Regions from separate parts of the Homo sapiens genome. Here region 2 is linked to region 1. The links are contacts of gene promoters, found by promoter capture Hi-C in blood cells and fetal thymus (Javierre and others, 2016). All regions are on one chromosome and are shown on one strand. The core of a region is centred on a gene start or on the middle of the fragment in contact, and the rest is flanking DNA. Distances in the headings are between cores, read along the strand shown.

Region 1 (5,480 bases), core at 2,981-5,480:
ACTGAGTTGTTTTGAGAATTAAATGAATACTGAATGAATTAAATGAATACTGAAATACTGAAGCACTGAAATAACAATTAGGAAAGAGTAAATAAATGCTAGGTATTATTAAGATGGTACATGGTAGCTAAAAATCTGATTCTGAATATACAGTGAGAACATAAAATAGAACCAGAACCCCACATAATAACAACTGGGAACAAAAGAAAGAAAACATATGAAGAAAAGTGATAAGTGGATGACAGGAAAAACAGAGCGGAAGCAAAAGAAAACAGTTTTGAAGGATTTGTTAACAACAGAGTGTTGGTTAAGTACATACGGTTTATAAGGCCAAAGGATTTGGCAATTTGAAGGTCAATCATGAACAGAAAACATAGTGTTCTACGAAGTGTTTAGAAGGGAGGAGAGAAGAAAGCGAAAAGGCAGACTACAGAGTGGGGTTAATGGGTAGTGGAGGAGCATAAAGAGAATTCTAGATCAGTGGTCCCTAAACTTCATTTCAAGGGCTTCAAAAAGAAACAGGGAATCTGACACAAGGTAGTGGACTCCCTTAATACTATCAATAAAATTTTTTTAACTATTATCACCATCATCTGAAAAAGGAAATGCCTAACAGTAAAAATGTATGAAGGCTAAAAATCCCAGAACAAAGGGAACACCTTTATGAAAAATCACTGTCGGCCGGGCGCGGTGGTTCACGCCTGTAATCCCAGCACTTTGGGAGGCCAAGGTGTGCAGATCACGAGGTCAGGAGATCAAGACCATCCTGGCTAACACGGTGAAACCCCATTTCTACTAAAAATACAAAAAAATTAGCTGGGCGTGGTGGCAGGCACCTGTAGTCCCAGCTACTGGGGAGGCTGAGGCAGGAGAATGCCGTGAACCTGGGAGGCAGAGCTTGCAGTGAGCCAAGATGGTGCCACTGCACTCCAGCCTGGGCGACAGTAGAGCGAGACTCCATCTCAAAAAAAAAAAAAAAGAACATAAACTCTTTGACTACATTTTCTTGTATTAGCTATGTCATATTTTTACACTTGGCAAACAAGCATTTTGTATATACCCAAAATCCACTTACTACATACAAACTATAAAGAAAAATATAAGGACACATTAGCAATATATATAAACTATGCCTTGCAGCAGCATCACAGGCGCTCAATAAAACTTTATTGAAATGTACTCAAGTGGTGTGGGCCACGCAATACTAGATGAAGAATTACAAGTCAGATTCCACTCTATAAAAAAGAGCTAAGACAGTATAACATAATGGTTACAAGAGTGGTAACATGACTACAGGCTTTGGAATCAGACAGACTTGGGTTCAAATCTCAGCTGCAATACTTTATGGCTAGGTGACCTTGGCAAAATGATTTAACCTACCTAAATTTGTCTCCTCACCTGTAAAACAGGAATACTCACCTCATGAGGTTATAGTGCTGATTAAATGGCAGTTTCTAACTTTTAGAAGTCGTAACATGATAGATGTTGCTGCTTAAAGATCCTTAAGTTAGTAGGAGATATTTTGCTTAGACTTACTTGATTTCTTCATTTTTAAGGGGGGAATCTCCTGAATTTTCCATTTTCAGGGTTTTCAAAAGCTGGTCTGGAATAGTAATTTGCAAATCCTAGTGTCTTTTCCATGACAAGATTTTAATGAATCTACTATGAAATTACAAAAAAGAAAAGTGTAGTGTAGTAATTTTTCTCTTTAACAGGCACTACTGTGAAGAAAGAATCACTTGTAGAACTCTAAAAAATATGCAGGCCTCTTATCCTCTGGAGATCTGGATTGATCTAGGGCTTGAAGAAAATGGACTGTCTGTGGAATTTTGGTAATTCATGTTATATAAAAGTTAAGAAACCACTGTCCTATGACCTTACTAACAATGCTTTACCTGAGTCTAAGGTAAGGAAGAATCAGAGACAGAAGAGCTTTAAGATGTGATCCTTTAGTTTGGTTCCAAGTTTCTAAGACAGACCTTTACTCTAAATTCTTTTTACAGAGAACAGAATCATACTGTAAAGTTCCTTTTAATATCTTTCCCAAAGCCAGGGAAAATATTATTCCCCATTAAAATTTTACATCAATATGGGGTATTCCTTAAGCTCTTCACGTTCTCTATTGAAACTATTCAATAATTAACACTTTAAAAATCTGTGTACATGACAGTGCACTGGAGACTGTACATAATAATATGTAAGTTGTCTTATTTCTAGATTGTCTTTCTTAAAAATAGGTTTAAGTTTACAGTAAAAATCCACTGATGCTTCACTACACCCTCCCACAAATATGTATTCAACACATACATTTTAAAATACGCATCTCACAAGCAATCTCAGTAGACTGAAGGCACCTAAAGCAAACTAGAAACCTTATTAAGTTAACCCAATAAAACATTTTAAATATATAACTCAAAAAAAAAAAAACCAACGCCATCATGAACATTTTATTCCAAAAGAATCAGTATGAAATAAAAAAGAGTCTAGAAACACTGTAGGACTTCTTCAAAACAAGGAAACAAACAAAAACTTAGGATGGCTAATAACAGTACTGTACCAATAGAATTGAAAGCAAGCAAGCAAGCAAAAGGAATCTACCTTAAAACACTGCTGCTGCTGTTAAGGAGACCTAGAAGGGAAAGCAAATGCTAGAGCAGGCAATAAAGGCTTCTTTAATATATAGTATAGGTTTTACTAATTTGGGCACAAGATATCTTTCTTCTCAGCTGCTTACATTAGTGAAGTTTATGGGTGAAAAATGCAATTGCTAACTTGAAGAGTGTTGAAATCCAAACTTGCATACAACAGTACAAAGGTCTAAGAAACCATAGCAGGGACTGGTGAAGTATTATTTAGTGAGCTTAGGCCTTACTGCATTTGTCAATCCAAATTTTAAAAACAAATGCCTTACTTACTTTACTCACACAGAAAATTAAGTTTGCAGTATGTAGTAGAAAGCTGTATACCAACAGAATTCTATAAATTTTAAGTATGTTAAAGCAGACTGTACACAACTTAAACCAGTTTTGACTTCAGCTTTTTTAAAGTTATGTAATTTTAAAGCCCAATATTATATCAAAACACAATTGTAAAGCACTGAAATGACTAACAAGTGTTACTTTTTTTTAAGACTTCATACAGTGTCAAAATACCCAAGTATTTTTTACTTTTGAAAAGTTTAACTTCACCCACTTTGTGGAGTCATATAAAAGTTTACTAGTTCAGAACCAAACTAAAGAGATGCATATTTGAGGACACCCTTTCTAGTTAATCCAATCCTCCTCCTTTCAGCACTACATTTGCCTAACGATTCACCATAGGCATATGACATATATGACAGCAAATACTGCTTACCCCCTAAATACACAACAGTCTGAAGAACAGGTGCAATACTATTTAGACACACGCTTTTTCCTTCTAAGCCTAAATTTGCCCTGGAAAGGTATTTAAAAATAAACACAAATACCCAAGAAAGTTAAATAACCCTTTCAAAAAGATGCAGCAATTTTGAGATCCAGGACATGAGCTGTTAACTACCAACAGCTTCCAAATGTGCAGCCTATCAAAGGTTCACATTATGAGGATCGAGTCAAGCTCAACTATGAAGGGTTCCGAGAACATCTCACTTTGCTTCTCCTGCAAGAGTAAGTAACATGATATAACTACGTTTCACTTCAAGGGAATATTAAATCTCTTCAGTCGTTTCATAAATACAGCATCGATCGTCTGGTTTGGTTTTTTTATAGATAAAGAAACGGATGGGGGAAAGGAGATCTAGTGGAGAGTACTGTAAAAAGAAAAATTCAGTGCTGAAAGCGTTGATGAGTCACTAAGTAAGGAATAACTACAGAGAATCCAAGTGAGTAAGGCAGCATCTCAGGTGAGAAAGTACTTAAAGTTGACGATGGGAAATAAAACTTCACAGGTCAGTCCCAAGTCACTGTGCACCCTAGCAGCCCAGGAAAGAAGCGTGGCTGTCAAGGGGCAAGCGCGTACCAAGTCTGAGGGAGGGGGCCAGATACGCCAAATCGGAAAGGGGGGTGGTCCGGAAAAGGGGGGTAAGATGCCTATCCTAGTCCCTCTCTTCGGGCTCTTCATCTCAAGAGGAACAAACAAGAGCAAACTCAGTGTTGAGAGGCCCCAAACCGGACTCTCCCACAGAGAGGTGCTCGGTCCCAAGCCCCGGAGGCCCGGGAAGGCCGCCTCCGGAGGAGCCCCCGCAGACGCCATACTAAAAGCCAAAATGGCTGCCCCGAGGAGGCCCGCACCGCGTAGCCAGTGAAGGTTGGGGAGCAAGCTTATGCGGGAAAGAGGGAGGGGGACTCCAGGAAAAGCCGTTGAGAGGACCATCACAACCTGAGCAGCACAGGTAGGTTCCGCTCGGCCTCCCAAGGCGCCGGCTCCGGCTGAGTGGAGTCCCCAGCCCCACCCCCCGGCCGGGAACCCAGCCGCCGCAGCTCCCGCACACCGACCCCAACGAGGTACCTGCAGTTCGGCCCGTTCCACCTCCCAGTGCGCCCGCTCCATCTCGAACCGAGCCCACTCGTGCTGGATGTAGTGCAGTATCCCCGGGATAGTGTACTGCTGCGGCCGGGACAGCTCGGGGCCTGCCGCGGGACCCGCTCCCTCGGAGGCCGGAGGACCCCCGCCGCCCGCCGCTCCGTTCCCCCCGGGCGAAAGGCCCAGGTTCCCCCCAGGTCCCTGCTGCTGCCGGGGAGGGGCCGCCATCCCCGGGCCGCCACCACCGCCTCCGGCAAGCTCGTCCATTGTGTGTGGGGCCCCGGCCGGGGCGCAGGGCGAGACGCCGACAGCTGGGGGAAGGGCCGGAGAGGGTGGCCCCGCGCTGGCTGCGGGGCGGAGGCCGGCCGGGAGAGGGGCGGGGAAGGGGTCGTTGCTGTGTGCCTGCCGTGGGTCAGAGCAGGGAGCTGCCGGCTGCCGCCATTACAATCCCTCCTCCATCTGCCCGTCTCACTCACTCACTTTAGGGGAAGGGGGGGCCTCGGCGGGAGGGGTGGGGGGAGAGTTGGGAAGGGGATAGGCGGAGGGCCGTCACTAGCGCACAGCATGCTGGGTAGCGAACGCAGCCTCACGCTTAATCGCCAAATAGAGTCCGGCCTCACCCTACGCCGGCGCACTGAGAACGCAGCCCGGGTCGCCGTTAGAGGGCGGGGAAAGAGCTCGGGCTCCGCCCCTAGGCCCGCCCTCAGACCCGATCCGGTGTCTGGCCGCAGCTACCGGACACCTGGGCTCCGACTCTGACTTTTGGAAGCGAGGCGGCCTTAGGCTTCCTGGTTATCAGTTTCCTTTTAGCAGGCCGTCCCCGGGCGCTGTTTCCTTCCCAGGGGTCTCTCACCCGTGTCCCGGCTTTCTGAGCTGGTTGTTAACCTGGCTGGTCGCTCTGGCCGACCGCATCCCGTCTCGGATTCCTGACGTTTCTTTTTCATTCTTTGAGTGTTTCAGGCAGTCCCAAGGGTGGGCCC
Region 2 (5,480 bases), core at 1,177-3,676, 54 kb after region 1:
CCTTCTTCATGGGACAGTCAGCTAGCCTGTCTTCATTGTCTTAGTGCAGCAGTTCTCAAAGTCTGATTCCTGGACCATTAGCATAGGTTGAGAACTTGTTAGACAGACAAATTCTGGGCCCCATCCCAGACCATTGCATCAGAAGCTGTAGGTCAAGGCCCAGAAATCTGTTTTAAGATGACTTCCAGGTGATTCCAGGTGATTCTGGTTTCTGGTACATGCTTAATTTTGGTAATCATTGCCTTAGTGCATGAGGCTTGCTGTCAGCCATTTTTGTTTTTTTTCTTTTTTCTTTTTTTTTTTTTTTGAGATGGAGTCTCGCTCTGTCGCCAGGCTGGAGTGCAGTGGCGCGATCTCGGCTCACTGCAACCTCTGACTCCCTTGTTCAAGCAATTCTCCCACCTCAACCTCCCGAGTAGCTGGGATGACAGGCACGTGCCACCACACCCAGCTAATTGTTGTATTTTTAGTAGAGTTAGGGTTTCACCATATTGGCCAGGATGGTCTCGATTTCCTGACCTCTTGATCCACCTGCCTTGGCCTCCTAAAGTGCTGGGATTACAGGCGTGAGCCACCGTGCCCGGCCTTTATCAGCCTTTTCTTGATTCAAGAGTTGGTGTTGGGAACGTGCCTTGTGGTCTGTGATGTGGAAATGCATCTAGCCAGGAAGGGGTTGGTGCGTTCCAAAGCTGAAAGATACCAAGAGGTGGTCATTCCAGAGACTGGCCTTGGGGACAGAGGACATGGAGACTGGCTTTAAAATCTATCTCTGTGTTGATTGCTTGGCAAGAGCACCATAGACCAGCACTGTTCAGTAAAACTTTCTGCAGAGATAGGAATGTTCTGTACCTGTGCCATCCAATACAGTAGGCATTAGCCAGATGTGGCTCTTGAGCACTTGAAATGCAGTTAGTATAACTGAGGAAATAAAGTTTTAATTTTACTTAATTTAAATCTCCACATGAGGTTGGTGTTTACTGTATTGGACAGTATAGCTCTAGCTTCTGCTTACCTTGTGATGACCACTCTCTTGTTTAGACAGACTAGTTGCAAGTCAGGGTCTATGATCAGAGCTGACCATGATTAGCCATTTCAAGGTGACACCCACCAAGAAGAATATAATTTCCCAAAATAATAATGTTCTAAACCTAGGAGAATAAAAAGTGGGTACAAGTACTATCATTGCTAAGGTTTTAAAAATTATTATTATTATATTCAGTAACTGAGAATAAATAGCATATTGCTGAATTATAGGTATAATTTTAGGGAGAGTCAGTGACCACATAAACCACGAAAGTAAAGATTAGAATTTAATTTCAGCCAGGTGATTATGCAGGACTTGGACGGTAGGTACTAAGGGATGACTTGGCTTAGGATCAAACCATAGCAAAAAGAAGAAGAGGAAGAGGGAAAAGAGCACTATGGGAAAGAAAATAGGATCTGTCCCCCTCACAGAGACGGCCTTGTCATGTAAGATTTATTTTTAGGTTTGTGAATTTTAAACATTCTTTCTGTGGCTATTTTTAATCTTCAAGAATTTCCAAATCTTAAATTTGGAGATCAGTCTCATGCTGTCTGGGGCTGAGAGAAGCATCTCAGCATCACATTTTTAAAACAAAAAACCAACCCAGTTAGCTTCAAAGAAGGCAGCTTTGCCAGAGGTGAGGGTTGTTGCTGTTGAAGAAGTGGTATCAGGGGATTTTCAGTGCTGCATTTGACAACCCTTAAGTCCTTTCATATTTGAACTTAATTCTCTTTGCTTTTTTCTTCCTCCATACTTTTTTCACTGCATAAATATCTATTTTATTTACAAAATTTTAAAACATATAAGCAAAGAGAAAGAGGAAAGCGAATACATGTAGTTATGCATTTGTCTAAACCCATGGAATGTACAACAGTAGAGTGAACCCGAATGTAAACTGTGGAATTTGGGTGAGAATGATGTAGGTGGGGAATGCTGATCATGGGAGGAGGCTGCACATTCGGAGGGACACGGCTGCACATTCGGAGGCTGCACATTCGGAGGGAAGGCTGTACCTTCCCCTCAATATTGCTGTGAACCTAAAACTGCTCTTTAAAAAGTAATGTATTTTTTGGCCAGGTATGATGACTCACACCTGTAATCCCAGCACTTAGGGAGGCTGAGGCAGGTGGATTGCTTGAGCTCAGGAGTTCAAGACCAGTCTGGGCAACATGGCAAAACCCCCGTCTCTACAAAAAATACAAAAATTAGCCAGGTGTGGTGGCTCACACCTCTAGTCCCAGCTACTTGGGAGGCAGAGGTGGGAGGATCGCTTGAACCCAGGAAGTGGAGGTTGTAATGAACCAAGATCATGCCACTGCACTCCAGCCTGGGCGACAGACTGACTCCAAATAAATAAATACTTTCTTGAAATAAATAAATAAAATAGATTTTTTTAAGTGAGAAGAAGATCATCAGTAAGCCCATCAGTTACTGATAACTGCTGTTAGGTACATTTCCTTTTAGACTTTCTATGTCTGTCTGTAGCTGTATAACCACATATACTTTGACCTTTATACATACATACATAGGATAATACTATGTATACATTTTGTAACTTTTTTTAACAATATGTGAGTACTTATATGTCTACATCATCATTTGTGGATATGCTACGGTTTACTTAATTTGTTCCCCTCCTTGATAGATATTTAGGTTATTATCCATAATTTGCTATTACAAACACCATTACCCTGAATATCCTGTCATATATCATTGTGCCATTGTCTAATTTTTTCCTTAGGATAAACTACTAGAAGTAACGTCAGTGGATTCAAAGGGTGTGGCACATTGTTAAGATCTCTGATACACATATCAAATTACCTACATCTGTAAAGGCTGAGTTAGTTTCTTTTTCCCTCTGCTTTCTAAAGATGAATCGTGCTGGCCTGTAAAATTCCTTTGAACTACAGCCTATATTTAAAAAAATTATAGTCCCAAACTTAGGGCCTTGGCAGAGTCAGACTGCTGTGGCCACCAAGCCCAGAAGCAGGTAGGAGAGGCCGCTGCTATGGACGCAGAAGCCTCTTCAGTCTGACTCTGCTAAGAGCAGTGGTCCCCAGTGTCTTTTTTCTAACCCTTGCACTCTTTTTCTGTCTTCCAGAGTGAATTAGATGTATCCTTTTTCAATACTGTTTTCCACAGTACTTGGCAAATGCACTCTGGTCCTTATCAGGTAAGTACCACAAGGCAGGAAAACTATTCAGCAGAGTCCAGAGTGTTCATCACCAACAACTATGACAAGACAGCCAGAGGTGTGTGTGTTCTGCAGAACTCCTCCCCAACTTCGTCACCCTGCTTCAACAAGGCGATTCTTTTTTTTTCTTTTTAAGATGGAGTTTCGCTCTTCTTGCCCAGGCTGGAGTGCAATGGTGTAATCTCTGCTCACTGCAATTTCCACCTCACTGCAACCTCTGCCTTTTGGGTTCAAGTATTCTCCTGCCTCAGCCTCCTGAGGCATTACGGGCGCCCACCACCACGCCCAGCTAATGTTTGTATTTTTAGTAGACACGGGGTTTCACCATGTTGGCCAGGCTGGTCTTGAACTCCTGGCCTCAGGTGATCCACCCACCTCGGCCTCCCAAAGTGCTGGGATTACAGGCGTGAACCACTGCGCCTGGCAAGATGATTCTTAAGATTTTTTTTTTCCAGGCAGGATAGCGCTATCATAGTAGTTAATAGCTACTATTTATTAATTTAATTTCCTTTAAGCATATGGAATAGGCATTTTCAAAATTTAAATAACACAGCCAAAAAAGTGTTTAGTCCTCCTCCAGAAACTGGATTTCCAGGGTGCCAGGTCTAAATCTCTAGAAATCCCCTACATGACCAGAATAAGGCCTTCAGTGTTGATAAACTGGAAGGTTAAAGAAATTGCCTGGCTTGTATTCATTGCTATCAAATGTATTCATTCCTTGATAGCAGAGAAAGTTCTCCTTTTTGCCTTTTCTTCTGTCTCTTTTAAATCACAATACCCAAGGACCCTCAAAACAAGCACGATTTGCTTAGAATACTGCAGGCCCACAGATTTTGGCAGGAGCCCTCCAGGCTTTGTGCGAGTGTTTGGGAGGCAAGTTAATTTTTAAGTTTATTTTTTACTTCAAAAATCTACCTACCACTTGAGTCCTTTAAGAACACATCAAGTTTGAATATAAAATAGTAAATTAATTATAACAAATGTTTATATATAAATATTTATATAAGAATATAACAACTATATATGAATTATAACAATGTTTATGTGTATATATACATACATGTATTTATGTGTGTGTGTGTATGTGTGTGTACGTGCACAAACACACAGGCATTTTTCCACATTTTGCCAGAAATATTAAGTGGATGCAAAACTACTGGTTCTGGGCGTAGTGTCTGATGTGTATATATATGATATATATATATACATTTTGTAGAGATGGGGTTTCGCCATGTTAGCCAGGTTGGTTTTGAACTCCTCACCTCAGATGATCCGCCTGCCTCAGCCTCCCAAAGTGCTGGGATTACAGGCGTGAGCCACCACGTCCGGCCTAATTTATAAATTTATATATACACTTATATAAATGCCCAGAACCAGTATGTTTGCATCCACTTAGTATTTCTGGGGAAATTGCTATTTACTTGTTATTACTGATAGGAAATGTCACTGTGTTGACAAATTCATTTTGTGCCCTTAATTTGGAAGCCTCTGTAAAGTAACTGGGAAAATCTGAGTGCCCTCTAGTGGTGAGTGACCCAAATCTATGATCCCTGTGACCTAGAAGGGACTATAGATCCCTTTGTAGGTTTTAGCATGCTGAATAAAAATATACCGTGATATACAGACCACGTTGTATATTATGGTGTATTTTCACTCAGCATGGTCTGTATATTACAGTATATTTTTATTCAACATGTAATATTCTATCTGAATTAAGCCATTCAAAGCAATTCAAAATAAATCTCTTCCTACTTGAACAAGGTACAAGTAGACAAAAAGCTTTTTGATTTAAACAGTCATCAGGAAGATAGCAAGGGCTAAAAGACACTTCACTGGGAGTAGAGAACTCAATTTCCACTTTTGGTCTTGCCACTGACTAGCTGTGTGTATTGGACAAGACACATAACCCGCTCATCTTAAAATGAGAGAATTAAGACTAGAAGAGCTTTGGCCGGGCGCGGTGGCTCACGCCTGTAATCCCAGCACTTTGGGAGGCCGAGGCGGGTGGATCATGAGGTCAGGAGATCGAGACCATCCTGGCTAACAAGGTGAAACCCCGTCTCTACTAAAAATACAAAAAATTAGCCGGGCGCGGTGGCGGGCGCCTGTAGTCCCAGCTACTTGGGAGGCTGAGGCAGGAGAATGGCGTGAACCCGGGAGGCGGAGCTTGCAGTGAGCCGAGATTGCGCCACTGCACTCCAGCCTGGGCGACAGAGCGAGACTCCGTCTCAAAAAAAAAAAAAAAGACTAGAAGAGCTTTAA

The links. The method cuts DNA at HindIII sites, captures the fragments that hold promoters and counts their contacts. A CHiCAGO score of 5 or more calls a contact.
Region 2: a contact is called between a fragment that was not itself captured here and the fragment with the promoter of AP4S1 in region 1, in 5 of 17 cell types (erythroblasts, M2 macrophages, M1 macrophages and 2 more). The highest score is 11.1, in erythroblasts.

What each region holds. Positions count from the first base shown.
Region 1 is chr14:31,021,419-31,026,898 of GRCh38, forward strand. It overlaps AP4S1 (adaptor related protein complex 4 subunit sigma 1), which reads left to right and starts at 4,231. Exons shown (of 6, transcript NM_001128126.3): 1 at 4,231-4,369. It overlaps STRN3 (striatin 3), which reads right to left and starts at 4,961. Exons shown (of 18, transcript NM_001083893.2): 1 at 4,486-4,961. The coding sequence starts at 4,767. RefSeq lists enhancers at 3,910-4,009, 4,080-4,189, 5,300-5,459 and silencers at 4,179-4,360, 4,500-4,759, 4,850-5,169. The HindIII fragment of the contact is 24,948 bases long and covers 1-4,295 here.
Region 2 is chr14:31,077,448-31,082,927 of GRCh38, forward strand. AP4S1 (adaptor related protein complex 4 subunit sigma 1) reads left to right here. Exons shown (of 6, transcript NM_001128126.3): 5 at 3,126-3,137. Among named protein-coding and RNA genes, the nearest start is that of STRN3, 54 kb to the left of the region's middle. RefSeq lists a silencer at 4,731-4,810. The HindIII fragment of the contact is 5,137 bases long and covers 1-4,995 here.